5 separate regions of the Homo sapiens genome follow, and all the other regions are linked to region 3. The links are contacts of gene promoters, found by promoter capture Hi-C in blood cells and fetal thymus (Javierre and others, 2016). All regions are on one chromosome and are shown on one strand. Each heading gives the region's core, a stretch centred on a gene start or on the middle of the fragment in contact. The rest is flanking DNA. Distances are from core to core; before and after follow the strand shown.

Region 1 (2,700 bases), core at 86-2,585, 170 kb after region 3:
AAGTGATCTACCCGCCTCGGCCTCCCAAAGTGCTGGGATTACAGGCGTGAGCCACTGTAAATAATGCCCAAGGGCTGCCGAGTGGACCCAAAGCAGAATCCTCTTTCCTGTAGTAAGATGAGTGGAAAGGAGAGCTCCCTGAAACTGCTAGAGTCTTAGATGTTGCTCCTTTCCCCTTATAAACTCCATAGCTGTCCATTGGCATGGGTGGGAAGTAGCAGAATTTCAGTCCTGGATGGAAGAGTTCTCTATGGTTGGAAGGAGTAGGAATGGCAGTGCTCTCTGAGTCTCTAAAACCAGGCAGGTTTGGCTTCAAACAACTGCCAAGCCCAAGCAAGGGGAACAAAGCCACCCTCCTGTGTAAGCTCCATTGGCCAAGCTCTGCTCCTGCCGCGCCGTCTGCCCTAACAGAAGCAAGGGGCCAGGACCCTGAGTTTTATTGGGCCTTGACTAATGTGCCTCCTCATCTGTGTCCTCACCCTCATTGTGGACTTAGGTTTCAGGTATCTCAGAGGCAGACCCACAGGCTCTGCTCCAGGCCATGAAGGTAAGGAAACAGCTTGCACGATTCTTAGAACTGGGGGTGGGTGGGGTGGGGTCATGATATTTTGTACCAAAGCTTCATTCTCCTTCTAATTTCTCCCTTTACAACCTGTGTTTCTGAGCCCTTCCTCGTGCAAGCATGGAACTCGTCTGTGAGCCGTTGGCCTCCTTGCCTTTCTGAGTATCAACCAGTGTTCCTGGTATATAGAGAGTGGAGAGTGCCACAGGCCTCTGGGGAAACGGGGCCAGCTCTACTCGGAGGCCCACCTAGCTGGGTCCCCTCACCTCCACCTAGAAGACAGAGGGGGAGACTCTTTCCTCTAATGCTTGTTCTTAATCTTTCTCCATATTTCTCTCCACATCCCCTGCCAAGCCCCCTTCAATACTGCTGTCTTCTCATCAGATCAAGCCCAGCGCCAATCTTTGCAATGGATTTTTAAGGCACAGATTCTGAATAATTTGTAAGGACATAATCTCTAGCTTGGCCTAAGACACCTTGTTCTCCCTCTCCTTCCAGCCAGCAGCACCTTCCTGTCTGACCCTTGGGGTTTTGTGTCCCTTTTAGTTAACCCATTTTGCCACAGTCCCTAGGACAAAGCCGCGTTTTTGGTTACAGCCCTGTGGGGCTCTTGTTTTTGTTGTGTATTTTTGTTTTTTGGGTTTTTTTTTAGAGACACCATCGCATTCTATCACCCAGGCTGGAGTGCAGTGGTGTGATCTCATTGCAACCTTAAACTCCTGGCCTTAAGCGATTCTCTTACCTTGGCCTCCCAAAATACTGTAATTACAGGCATGAGGCACCACACCCGGTCCAGATTCAGCTTCTTTAATCTCATCTTGAAATCTTTCTCCTCAAAGGCCAGGCACCTGTAATCCCAGAACTTTGGGAGGCCGAGGCAGTAGGCTCGCTTGAGCCTAGGAGTTGGAGGCTGCAATGAGCTATGATCACACCACTGCACTACAGCCTGGGTGGTGACAGAGTGAGACTCTGTCTTCAAAAAAAAAAAAAAAGTCTGGCATGGTGGCTTACTCCTGTAATGCCAGCACTTTGGGAGGCCATGGCAGGTGGATCACTTGAGCTCAGAAGTTGGAGGCTGCAATGAGCTATGATCGCACCACTTCACTCCAGCCTGGGTGACAGAGTGAGACTCTGTCTTTATTTTATTTTATTTTTAATTTATTTTTATTTTTTTGAGACGGAGTCTTGCTCTGTTGCCTAGGCTGGAGTGCAGTGGCATGATCTCGGCTCACTGCAACCTCCACCTCCCAGGTTCAAGCGATTCTCCTACCTCAGCCTCCCAAGTAGCTGGGATTACAGGCGTGCACCACCACACCCAACTAATTTTTGTATTTTTTGTAGAGACAGGGTTTCATCATGTTGGCCAGGATGGTCTCGATTTCTTGACCTGGTGATCCACCTGCCTCGGCCCAAAGTGCTGGGATTCTAGGCATGAGCCACCGCGCCCGGCCAATATCCTGTCTAAAAAAAGAAAAAAAAGAAAGCTTTTTTCCCGAGACCAGCCACCTAGGATCCCTGGGCATAACCCACAAGTCCTCTGACTCAATTTTTGGTGCTGACTTTGAGTCTCTCATCCCAGAACCATGAGCTGGACTCCATTCCACCTCCCCCTGCTTACCTTTAGTTCCATTTTCTTTCTTCACTCACTGTTTTTCTCAACAGTTTTCTCATTTTCCTTTGTTTTCTCACAATTCTACACCTGGGGTGCCAACAGCCCATCTCTCTCAGGTGGAAGTCCTCAGCCCCTTATCAGACATAGTCCTCTGCCCTCCCTCCCTGGTTTTCTAGGACCTGGACGGCATGGATGCTGATATCTTAGGTCTGAAGAAATCTAATTCAGCCCCTAGCAAAAAAGCTGCAAAGGACCCTGGGAAAGGAGAGCTGCCCAACCACCCCAAGCCTGCAGGTGGGTCAGTAGCCAGTGAGAAAGGTGCATGGGAGACGGCTCCTCGCATCTGCTAGGGAGACTTTGAGGACGTGGAAGATGCTAGTAGGAAGCGTTCATGTCCTTGGGTTTTCTCTGCACAGGATGGAGAGGCCAAGGAGCATTTGTGCGTGTGTGTGTTTGAGTGTGTGTGGTGGGGTAAGGGGACAGCTTGAGTTTCCTCCCTTCCTCGAGCTGTTCCAGGCCCTCTGGG
Region 2 (2,772 bases), core at 78-2,577, 160 kb after region 3:
GCCTGGGTGACAAGAGCAAAACTCTGTCTCAAAAAAAAAAAAAAAGTATACACACACACACACACACACAAATAGAATAAAATATACAAAAAGAGAATTCCGTAGTGCTCTTTGGTACACCCTTTGTCTAGCAGCAATGACTATCAACTCGTGGCTAGTTGTGTTTCATCTGAACCTTCATCCCCCTCCTCCTGGGGACTATTTTGAAATAAATCTAAGACATCAGGGCCAGGCTCAGTGATGCACACCTGGGAGGCCGAGGCAGGTGGATCACCTGAGGTCGGGAGTTTGAGACCAGCCTGACCAACATGGAGAAACCTTGTTTCTACTAAAAATACAAAATTAGCCAGGCGTGGTGGCGCATGCCTGTAATCCCAGCTACTTGGGAGGCTGAGACAGGAGAATTGCTTGAGCCTGGGAGGCGGAGGTTGCGGTGAGCCGAGACCATGCCATTGCACTCCAGCCTGGGCAACAAGAGCGAGGCTCCGTTTCAAAAAAAAAAAAAAAACTAAGACATCAGATAATTTTATCCATAAATAATTCAATGCATAGCTCTAAAAGATAAGGACTCTTCAGAAACAACCACAGGCTGGGCACAGTGGCTCACGCCTGTAATCCTAGCACTTTGGGAGGCTGAGGTGGGTGGATCACTTGAATTGAGGAGTTCTAGACCAGCCTGGCCAACATGGTAAACCCCCATCTCTACAAAAAAATACAAATAGCAGCCAGGTGTCATGGCACACACCTGTAGTTCTAGCAACTCGGGAGGCTAAGGTGGGAAGATCGCTGGAGTCTGGGAGGCAGAGGCTGTAGTGAGCCAAGATTGTGCCACTGCACTCCAGCCTGAGCAACAGAGCAGGACTCAGTCTCAAAAAAAAAACAAAAACAAAAACAAAAAACAGTATACTATTTAACATGGCAAACTCTTTATTAGTAGTTCTTCTCTCTCCTTTCCCCACAGGTCCACGAATCTTACAAGCACCTGAAGTCACTGCAGTCCAAGCTCTGAAGTGTCACAAGGACAAGTTTAATCTGCTTCAGAAAGCGCCTGTGTGCAACTCAAATTTTGTGGAATCTTTTTCGAATTCAAATAGCTATAGAGCAAATGATAAATTGACCCCTTTTTATAAATGGAGGGAAAAAATGAACAGATTTCAGAGATTAAATGAAAAAAAGCAGATGTTTTAAGTGCAATTAACACTGAAAGAGACCTGTTAAACCATTCAGAAAAAGCTTAAGAAATGCGATATGACTTCCTTTTGTAATGCTGCTGATCCCAGTAGACTATGACTTTTGATAATTAGCAGAATTTAACTACTGAGTAGTTGATTATTTTCACATTTTAATTGCTAATCACTGGCTATATAAGTGTTTTTAAGCAAAGGTATTTTTGAAGTGGTGTAGAACCCTTCCAAGCTTTCCTGCTCAGTGTTCTACCAGACTTACCCTGGGGCCTGGCTTAAAAGCAGGATTGAAGAAAAGGGACTGGGGGAAGGAAACTTATTGGAAAACTTGATGCGAATGAGTTTCTGCTTGGCACAGTCTCTGCCTGCTTGCTCTCCTTTGCTGATGGATTGCATTTATCAAACTATTCATGCTAGCATTTTTCCAACGAGGGAACTTATTCCGCACGGGCCTACTGTAGGACCATTGTCTCGTGTAATTAGGAATTTTCCATTTGAAGGATTGCTAAATTGTCACAGTAGTAGGAAGTATAGGGAAACCTCTCAGCTGTGGCACTGTTGTAGCTTTGGAGTGCAGAGTGTAACTCTGGGACAATCAGATTTCACATATTCTGTCATCTTGGCATAAGCCATTAAAAGCTTGGAGATTACTGTATTTGGCATTAAAAAAAAATGTCACTTAGGTCAGCACTCCCAGACGTAGCACAGAAAAACCCTTTGACACAAACCATGTGTTCTGATTTTTGGTTCAGAAAATATTGAAACTGTGAGTTGTTTTTTTTTTAACAACTGGGAAAAAACAAAAACAAAAAACTATAGTTAGAAAAATGGAAGTTCCATAGGTTCTATTTCTTACTCTATGTATGGCTTTGTTTTCAGTCTATTTCTAGGAGCTTTCTCTGAATCGCTAATTGTCCTTTCAGTTGAAATCTAATTTATACAATCATTCTATACTTAAAGGTTAAATACATCTTAATTAATTTTTTCTTAAAGTCAATGTAAGTCACTTTGTTTTGTTTTTTTTTAATCTACGCCATATGCCTCATGAAACCAGCTGTTCTAGAATCAGTCCTGAGAATATGGCTTAATTCCATGGAAACATAACTCCTATCTTGGGACCTGACATAATATCTATCTATCCTGGGGAACTGGTAATATGAGACTTATAGGTTACAGCAGAAATGCTACATGTTGACAAAAGCCTTAATCGTTCCACTGGGAGAACTAATTGATAATTGTGTTAAGATTGAAGATTAACCCTGTGTTAATCTCACTTGAGTCTATCCTGACAGTAGTTCAGATTCTGGAAAATGATAAACTGACCTGCTAGATGTAGAATTGTTTCAAAATTAGTGTTGAAATACCTTGTTCACAGATGAATATCTGGGCAGGATCTGAGGGTGTTTGGAATGACACCCCCCAATCCAGTTGCATAGATGGGATGTCTTTGCAGGTTTGAGGAGATCATCGACCTGCAGAGCCCCCTTTGACCCAGTACCTCACGTTTTATTTAAAATCTAAATCTGGGGCCAGGCGTGGTGGCTCACGCCTGTAATCCAAGCACTTTGGGAGGCCGAAGCGGGTGGAT
Region 3 (2,700 bases), core at 154-2,653:
TCTACAGCGGCTAACTAGCCCCGCTACTCTATTCTGTGACATCTAACAGTTTAAACTTTCTCCTACTTAGCCCTTTGGACTACACAAGGACCATGTCAGCGAAATCATCCTGGGTATTTCCTGACACAGGAATCAGCCTTTTATCTCCCCCACCTACAACAGGATTGAAATTGTCCTCTTGCCTGAGGGAAGGCTGCCCATCCCTCTCCAGGCTCTGTGCACCCACTTCCTCCTCCTCCTCCTCTTCGGGTGACTATGGGTGGAGTGAGCGCTTGGGAACCCTAGAGCTTGGGTTCTTCCTTCTCTCCTTCTCTCCTTAGGCCGGGAGCAGGGGCTCACGCCTGTAATCTCAGGACTTTGGAAGGCCAAGGCGGGTGGATCACTTGAGGTCAGGAGTTCGAGACTAGCCTGGGCAACATGGCGAAACCCTGTCTCTACTAATAATACAAAAAAATTAGCCGGGCGTGTTGGCAGCCGCCTGTAATCCCAGCTACTCGGGACGCTGAGGCACGAGAATCACTTGAACCCGGGAGGCAGAGACTGCAATGAGCCAAGATCGTGCCACTTGCACTCCAGCCTGGGCGACAGAGTGAGACTCTCTCTCAAAAGAAAAGAAAGGAAAAAAAAAGCTTGGTGTCCCCCCTGCCCGCCCCAAACCTTCTCATCTACCAGCACATGCCTCCTTGTCTATCTTCCGGGTGTCTGGACACTGAGGCCACAGAAGGACTGAACCAAGCTGGTCGGCCTTGTCCTTTCTCAAGGCTGGGGGCCAGAGGCAGGGTGGGCAGGGACGGGTTAGAGGAAGGAGTAACTCGAGGTTTTGCAGGAGCTGGGTCTGCAACCACAACATCCAGCCCCGCAGGGAAGTTGATCCAGGGGCGCCCCCCACCCCGTCCCCTGGAGCTGCAGTTGGACGCTGGGTCTGGGCCTGGAGCTCCGGAGCAGCCCCGCCAGCCCACAGGATACGTTTTTGCGTAATGCAGGGTGGAAGGCGGAAACAAGTACACAAGCCCCTGGTTCATTACATGGACACACGTTAGGCATCTACTGTGTCACCTGCTCCGTGCGGGGCTTTGTGGGAAACGCAATTGGCCTTGGTGCCTGCCCATAGAATGCGACCTGGGGAAAGGAATTCGTCGCCTTCCCCAGCAGTCTTTATCAAAAGGGTCGGTCTTTCAACGAAAACAGCAAGTGAGCTCTAAGTGTCCTGCCAGCCGCGGGACATAAGGCCGATCGAAAACCTCTGCTGAGGCAAGGAACCCGCGTCGAGGTCCCTTGCAGCATCCGAATACACTTCTCTTCCCAGCCACGCTCAAAATGGCCGTCGGTCCGTTCTTGGGCTCCGCGCAGGCGCACTTCAGCCTGCGATTCCCAACATGGCTCCGCCCAGGCGTCCCGGGGCGGGACCAAGAGCGGAAGTGGGTGTGACGGGGACGGGGGCCCGGTGGGCCCGCGGAGGAAAGATACTGGGGAGTGGGAGCCGCGGGGTTCAGAGCGATGATTCCCCCACAGGAGGCATCCGCTCGACGGCGGGAGATTGAGGACAAGCTGAAGCAGGTGGGCGTGGGCCTGGGGAGGCTGGGGAGGAGGTGAGGGAAAGGGGCCAACAGCGGGGCCTGATTGTCTACTCATGGAGGAGGCAGGGGTGGGAGGGAGCGCACCCAGCGAGGAGATGGGGTTGGGGGCTAGGCCGTGGGGTTGGGACGCAGTGGTCTCCTTTAGCTTCTGGTTTCTGGTGATGTCCTCCCCTTGCCTGCCCCCAGGAGGAGGAGACTCTGTCCTTCATCCGAGACAGCCTGGAGAAGAGCGACCAGCTCACTAAGAACATGGTGAGTCTCCCCGCAGCTGGGGGAGAGGGCAGGCCTCCGGACCCTGGGGGAGAGCCTTGCGACCTGGCGGTTCCGGTTCCTGCGGCCTGGAGTTCTGGAATGGGCAGCGACGGAGGCAGTGTGTGGGTTTATCTAGCAACAGTTTGGCATCTCTCCTGCCTAGCCCCCTCCCCATGTTCCGTACCCTCACTGAGGAGGCTGCACTTCCCACTGGCCTGGACTTGCTGCTTTCTGTCTAAGCTCGCCATTCTTCCTTCTCTCCTTCTGCAAACACTCAGTGAGTCTGACCAGTTGGGCTAGGTACTGGGCATATGTCATTGTCAGTGGACTCTCTGCCCAGGAGGTTGGCACTTTGAGATTCCTGAGGGCAGAGAAGACTCAGCCTTCACTCCAGAGGACTTTAGGGAAAGAAAGAGCTCTAAAGTCAGGCAGATCTGGGATCTAGTCCTTGCCCTTCTGCTTAAATGTGCGGCTCCTGATAGGTAACTGGTGTCAGCGAATTCATCTGCTAAAACAGAGACTGTGCCAGCCTCCCAGTGTGTCTGTGAAGGTCATATGCGCTAATGCATGCGACTGCATCTTGCACAGTGCCTGGTATACAATAGGTGCTCAATAAGTGAGTTTCCTTCTTTATTCCTAGGGGAGACTGGAAAAGCACAAAGTGAGTAAATACAAACTTGTATTTGCATTTAGTCACACAATAATAAAGTCCTAGTCCTTTTCTAAAAATTTTAATTTTTAAATTTTTTTTTTTAGAGGCAGAGTCTGGCTGTGTTGTGCAGGCTAGAGTGCAGTGGCATGACTGTAGCTCACTGCAGTCTCTAACTCCTGGGCTCAGGCAGTCCTCCTGCCTCGGCCTCCTAGCAGCTGG
Region 4 (2,700 bases), core at 12-2,511, 150 kb before region 3:
GCCTTCTTGGATTATCTCCTTATGACCTGTGGTTGCTCGTTTGGGTCAGAGTCGCTGTCTGAGGTCACAGAAAACGGAAAAAGGGCCAGCCCTTGCTTGGAGGAATCTACCTTGGTAAGAGAACTCCACTGAGCTCACCCACCAGAAGTTAGGGAGAGGGACTGGGTCACATATGCAGTGGAATCAATGTGCCAACCCACAATGCATTGCTCAGGGATACACATGTATAGGATTAAATGACAATGAAAAGCAAGGGACCGATTAATGCAAATTGGAGGATACTGAGTCTCTGGTGAAGAAAGGAGGATATGCATCTGGGAGAGGTCATTCAAGAGTCTTCAAAGGTCTTGGACTTCTTAAATTCTGTGTCGGGGACACAGGTGATTGTTTATTATTCTTTAAATTGTGTATATTCCAGCTTAGCCAACATGGCAAAACCCCGTCTCTACTAAAAATACAAAAATTAGGTGTGGTGGCATGCGCCTGTAATTCCAGCTACTCGGGAGGCTGAGGCATGAGAATTGCTTGAACCTGAGAGGCACGAGGCTGCAGTGAGCCGAGATCTCCACAGCACTCCAACTTGGGTGACAGAGCGAGATCCTGTTTTGTTTTGTTTTTTTCTGAGACGGAGTTTAGCTGTTGTTGCCCATGCTGGAGTGCAATGGTGCAATCTCGGCTCACTACAATCTCCACCTCCCGGGTTCACGTGATTCTCCTGCCTCTGCCTCCCAAGTAGCTGGGATTACAGGCATTAGCCACTGTGCCCAACTAATTTTTGTATTTTTAGTAGGGACAGTGTTTCACCATGTTGATCAGGCTGGTCTCGAACTCCAGACCTCAGGTGGTCCACCTGCCTCAGCCTGCCAAAGTGCTGAGATTACAGGTGTGAGCCACCGTACCTGGCCTCTGTCTTTTTTTTTTTAATTGTGCATGTAAATTATAAACACACTTTGGGTGTATGATTGTTTTTTCTCAAAAAATAAAATGCAGAGCTGGGCACGGTGGCTCACACCCATAGTCCCAGCACTGTGGGAGGCTGAGGCGAGTGGGCGGGTGGATCGCTTGAGCCCAGGAGTTCAAGACCAGCCTGGGCAAAAAAGCAAGAACCCATTTCTACGAAATATAAAAAATTAGCTGAATGTAGTTCACGCTTCTCAAGAGGACCTCAGATATTCTTCCACAGTGTAGAGAAAAATACTCTGTCCGTGGTCAAGGCCTGCCAGCTATTGTGTGTGCCTGCTAGTATGCTGACAGTCAGTCCTACTATGTGTGTGTGTTAATGCACTAATGTCTACCTACTGTGCATTAGGTCAGTCTCCCTACTGTGTGCCTGCTAGTGCACCGTCATTACACCTATTGCATGTAATGCCTTGTGATGGCACATTCCAAAGAGGGAAGGGTCTGACAACCACTGTGAGGCTGCCAGGGAACCCACAAATTCCCCCAAGTCCTGATCCTCCTCTGAAGACGTCGACGTCTCCTAGCTCACCGTTTCCCAGCCACTGGTGAAATCCTCAATACAGCCCCCTTCACAGCCCATGCAGTTTCTCCACTGCTCCCCTTGTATGTGACCCTGGGGCGAACCTCTCCTCCTTTGGAACCTTGATCTCCCAGTTTATCTCCCAAATTAATAATTTTTTTTATTTGAGTAGCTGCAATATACAAGCCATAAGCCATAACGATGTCCTCTCTGGCACTTTGCACCATATGGAACATGCCAGCAGACAATGAGAGGACTGAAGAGCTGAGCATCGGCAATGAAACGCTTAGCCTGGGAGCACAGCACACGCTGCATAACGACCTTTCTGTCAATGATGGGTTGCGTCTGTGAAGGTGGGCCCACTCAATTAGAATGCTGTATTTCTACTGTATCTTTTCTATGTTTATTTATTTATTTTTTATTTTTTTTGAGACGGAGTCTTATTCTGTCCCTCAGGCTAGAGTGCAATGGCCTGATCTCGGCTCACTGCAACCTCCGCCTCCCGGGTTCAAGCGATTCTCCTGCCTCAGCCTCTTGAGTAGCTGGGATTACAGGCACCTGCCACCATGCCTGGCTAATTTTTGTATTTTTAGTAGAGATAGGGTTTCACCATGTTAGCCAGGCTGGTCTCAAATTCCTGACCTCAAGTCATCTGCCCGCCTTGGCCTCCCAAAGTGCTTTTCTATGTTTAGATGGACAAATACTTCACCACTGTGCTACAATTCCCTACAGTATTTAGTATAGTAACATGCTGGATAGGTTTGTAGCCTGGGAGCAATGGCTATGCCACATGGCCTAGGTGTGTGGTAGGCTAGCCCATTTAGGTGTGTGTGAGTACACTCTAGAATGTTCACACGACGACAGAATCGCCTAATGACGCATTTCTCGGAGCGTATACGGGTCTTTAAGCAACACATGACTGCAGTACACCTTTGTTCATGGTTCACTGTCCCGAAGAATCATGTGGCCTCTTCTAACTTGACGCGGGCAGCAAAAGAGAGCCTCTGCATACCCGAAAGTAGAGGACGGGGGTCAGGTGAATGTCAGCTCCTCATTGCCTCCACAGGCAGCCAGGCTGTGAGTCAAAGAGGATGAACCTATTTTCACTTGGTTATCTTTAAATCCCAGAGTCCGGCTGGGCGCGGTGGCTCACGCCTGTAATCTCAGCACTTTGGGAGGCCGAGGTGGGCGGATCATTTGAGGTCAGGAGTTTGAGGTCA
Region 5 (2,743 bases), core at 103-2,602, 170 kb before region 3:
CCTCACCCAGGCCTTCCCCACGCCCACAGAAGGTCCCAGAGCGACATTCCCTAAGCCGGCCAGGGCAACCCCCGACCATTCCCGCACCTGGGCATGGCCCACACCTGGGTGGACCCCGGTGCAGGCCCAGGAGGCCTGGGGACGTCACAGCCTAACCACCCACGTGCTGAGAGGGGCTGCCCCTTCCAGCCTGGGAAAGCACAGGTGGGCAGGGGCGGGGGGAGGGGGAGGAGTCTCAGGGGTTTCCAACCAGGAAACAAAACTGAAAGGACGAACCCAGCTTCCAAGCACGTCCGTGTCACACGCAGGGGTGGAGGGGCAGCGGGGCCCACCGTTCCGCTCCACTGGAGGAGGGGCTGCCCCACCGTGTGAGGGGCCCGAGGAGGCCCGGAGGCAGGATGCGGTGGGTGCCGGGCCCGGCCCCTCTCGACTTTTATTTCACTTCCGGCCTGAACCTCCAGAACCCTTGTCCTGCCTGTGTTCCAGCAAGACTTGGGCCCCGTAGACCCCAGCAGAGGGCGAGGCAGGAGGACGGGACAGGAAGGGGCTGCCCAGACTGTATGGCGGTGAAGGGCAGGGCTGGAGGAGGAATCCCAGCCACGCGGCCATCACCCCCATCAGCCAGGTGGACAGGCTCCCCACGCAGCTGACCTCCCGAGCAGCAGGACCACCTGAGGACGAGCTGCTGGGTCAGGAACTGGTAACCTCGCCCCATGCTGACGCCTGCAGGGCTGCGGGGAAGGGGGAATGGAAGCAGGCCCCTCTGGGGACCCGCCAGCCTTAATTGAACTTTGGGTCATGGCCACTCCACAGGCCATGACCCAAAGGGACATACTGCCCCCGGGAAGCTGAGGAGAGGAGTATCGGAGATGAGCCCAGCTGGAAGATGCTTCCTGGGAGGGCCTGGGGGGGCCATCAGGAGGCCCCCAGCTAGAAGGAAGCTCTCCCCACTGTAGATGAAAATGGCTTCCAGCTCTTCTCACTAGGGCTCTGTGGGTGGGGGCTACACCGATGGGGCCAAGAAGGGAAGGTCACAGAAACTCAGGACGGACCCCGGCCCCTCTCTCCTCCCCACACCAACCTGGACCTTGCTGTCAGAGCCCCTGGTGTGACCATCCCACAGCAAAAACATCCAGACCAGCCCAGTGGCAAGGGACCCCCACCACCCCTCTTCTGAGGAGACCGCTTTTCCCACCAACGGAAATAAAAGCACCGCAAACCAGGGAAGTTAGAAAAGTCTCTTTTTAAGTTTTTAAATTAAAATTTCGCCCTGGTGAGATGGGATTCTGATTCGGGAACTAAACCCAAAGGCAGGCTCTCCACTTTGGACCTGGACACGCAGCGGGAGGGGCAGGGCGCCCAGGGCAGTCAAGTCCCCTGCTGGGCAGAGCCTGGCCTTTGACCAAAGTCAGCTCCTCAGTGCCACATCAGCCCTGCACATTCAGCAGGAGACAGGGGTGATGAGCTATGGGGCCACAACCAGCAATCAGAGGTGGGGAAGAGGCCATGGGGAGAGAGCCCTGATACCAAGAGGGCCTTCCACAGCTTTGACCTCAGGCCCTCCTGGGACCTGCAGCTGCTATGTGGCTGCCCAGTGACTGCAGGAGTGGTGTCCTCTTCCAGATTCCAGAAGGCATGGCTGTTAAAGGAGGCAGCTGACAGATGCCTTGTGCCCACAACATCACTCCATCAGCTCTGCAGCATGGCAGCCCTACCCCCGAGCACCCCAGGTGTGCCAGGCCCATTCTCACGCACATTAGTTATATTTATCTATTCATATATATTATAGTTATATATTAAAAACAGAGGAAAAACTTGCCTGAAAAACTCCTGAAGGACCCACGTGGCCCAGGAAGTTTACTGTCCCCCCGACCCACAAAAATTCTTTTATAAAATCTTCCAGTGCGATCTTCGGGAAACCCCCTGCCCTCCCCGGCTCCCCCCTCCCTGGCCCTCCTGTGTCCCCACAACCCTGGGCTGCCCCCAGCTCCAGCCCAGCGCCCGGCGGCGTCCAGTCTCATCTCTGGCCGTCCATGGCCGCCATGGCTTTCTGCTGGGCGCCCCCCTGCTGTGCTCCTGGGGGCCACGTGGGCTGTGGGCGGTGGAGGTGGTGGAAGGTGGTGGGGGAGGAGGGCGGGATCCAGGGCGCCTGGTGGCTGGGCGGGGACGAGGCCCAGAAGGGGCTGAAGTTTGCAGGTGGGGAGCAGGCTGCGGCTGTCATGGGGCTGTTGCTGCTCTGCAGGCCCTCGGAGGCGCGGAGCTTGGAGAACATGGCCAGCGCATCGGGGAAGTTGGGCGGCGTGGCAGGGGTGTTGCTGGGAGTGCACATCTGCGGGAGAGAACACGGGTGTGGGGAGGCTGCCTCGGGGGTCCCCGAGCCACTGGATGGGGCTTACCCAGGCCAGCCGCTCCTTTACTCCCATTTTTCAGCTTCATTCATTTTCGCACAAGCAGCTTCCACAGGACAAAAGTGCCCTCTCCCCGAGGCAATACAAACAGAAAACAAGGACAAAACCCAAGAACCTTATCAAAACCAACGGGGTTTCATGAGGCCTGGAAATGACACCCCGAGGAGCATTCAAAGTAAATGGTTAATTGCACCCAGGAGCTAAGGTGTCAGATTAAAGTGAAAGGGCAAGGGGGCAGCCCAGGACACCACTGTTCCGCACCTTCCCTGGGCAGGGAGACCAGCTGACTGCCCCACCAGCCACCCTCAGATGCTCCCAGGCTGCTAGGCAAGGGA

What was found. The method cuts DNA at HindIII sites, captures the fragments that hold promoters and counts their contacts. A CHiCAGO score of 5 or more calls a contact.
Region 1: a contact is called between a fragment that was not itself captured here and the fragment with the promoter of EXOC7 in region 3, in 1 of 17 cell types (endothelial precursors). The highest score is 5.6, in endothelial precursors.
Region 2: a contact is called between a fragment that was not itself captured here and the fragment with the promoter of EXOC7 in region 3, in 1 of 17 cell types (M1 macrophages). The highest score is 5.0, in M1 macrophages.
Region 4: a contact is called between a fragment that was not itself captured here and the fragment with the promoter of EXOC7 in region 3, in 5 of 17 cell types (endothelial precursors, M1 macrophages, total CD8 T cells and 2 more). The highest score is 7.7, in endothelial precursors.
Region 5: a contact is called between a fragment that was not itself captured here and the fragment with the promoter of EXOC7 in region 3, in 14 of 17 cell types (M1 macrophages, endothelial precursors, megakaryocytes and 11 more). The highest score is 11.8, in M1 macrophages.

Annotation. Positions count from the first base shown.
Region 1 is chr17:75,927,844-75,930,543 of GRCh38, reverse strand. It overlaps FBF1 (Fas binding factor 1), which reads left to right. Exons shown (of 30, transcript NM_001319193.2): 7 at 497-547; 8 at 2,351-2,468. Among named protein-coding and RNA genes, the nearest start is that of FBF1, 12 kb to the left of the region's middle. The HindIII fragment of the contact is 1,427 bases long and covers 622-2,048 here.
Region 2 is chr17:75,944,985-75,947,756 of GRCh38, reverse strand. ACOX1 (acyl-CoA oxidase 1) reads left to right here. Exons shown (of 14, transcript NM_004035.7): 14 at 962-2,772. The coding sequence ends at 1,009. Among named protein-coding and RNA genes, the nearest start is that of FBF1, 5.3 kb to the right of the region's middle. The HindIII fragment of the contact is 183 bases long and covers 1,236-1,418 here.
Region 3 is chr17:76,102,490-76,105,189 of GRCh38, reverse strand. It overlaps EXOC7 (exocyst complex component 7), which reads left to right and starts at 1,403. Exons shown (of 19, transcript NM_001013839.4): 1 at 1,403-1,557; 2 at 1,764-1,829. The coding sequence starts at 1,498. The HindIII fragment of the contact is 3,319 bases long and covers 632-2,700 here.
Region 4 is chr17:76,253,045-76,255,744 of GRCh38, reverse strand. It overlaps LOC105371896 (a long non-coding RNA gene), which reads left to right. Exons shown (of 6, transcript XR_007065913.1): 4 at 1-114; 5 at 1,653-1,833. Among named protein-coding and RNA genes, the nearest start is that of UBALD2, 11 kb to the left of the region's middle. The HindIII fragment of the contact is 4,799 bases long and covers 1-2,700 here.
Region 5 is chr17:76,269,780-76,272,522 of GRCh38, reverse strand. UBALD2 (UBA like domain containing 2) reads right to left here. Exons shown (of 3, transcript NM_182565.4): 3 at 1,225-2,329. The coding sequence ends at 2,018. Among named protein-coding and RNA genes, the nearest start is that of UBALD2, 5.8 kb to the right of the region's middle. RefSeq lists enhancers at 1-60, 183-232, 61-585, 1,173-1,392, 2,273-2,462 and a silencer at 383-482. The HindIII fragment of the contact is 5,749 bases long and covers 1-2,743 here.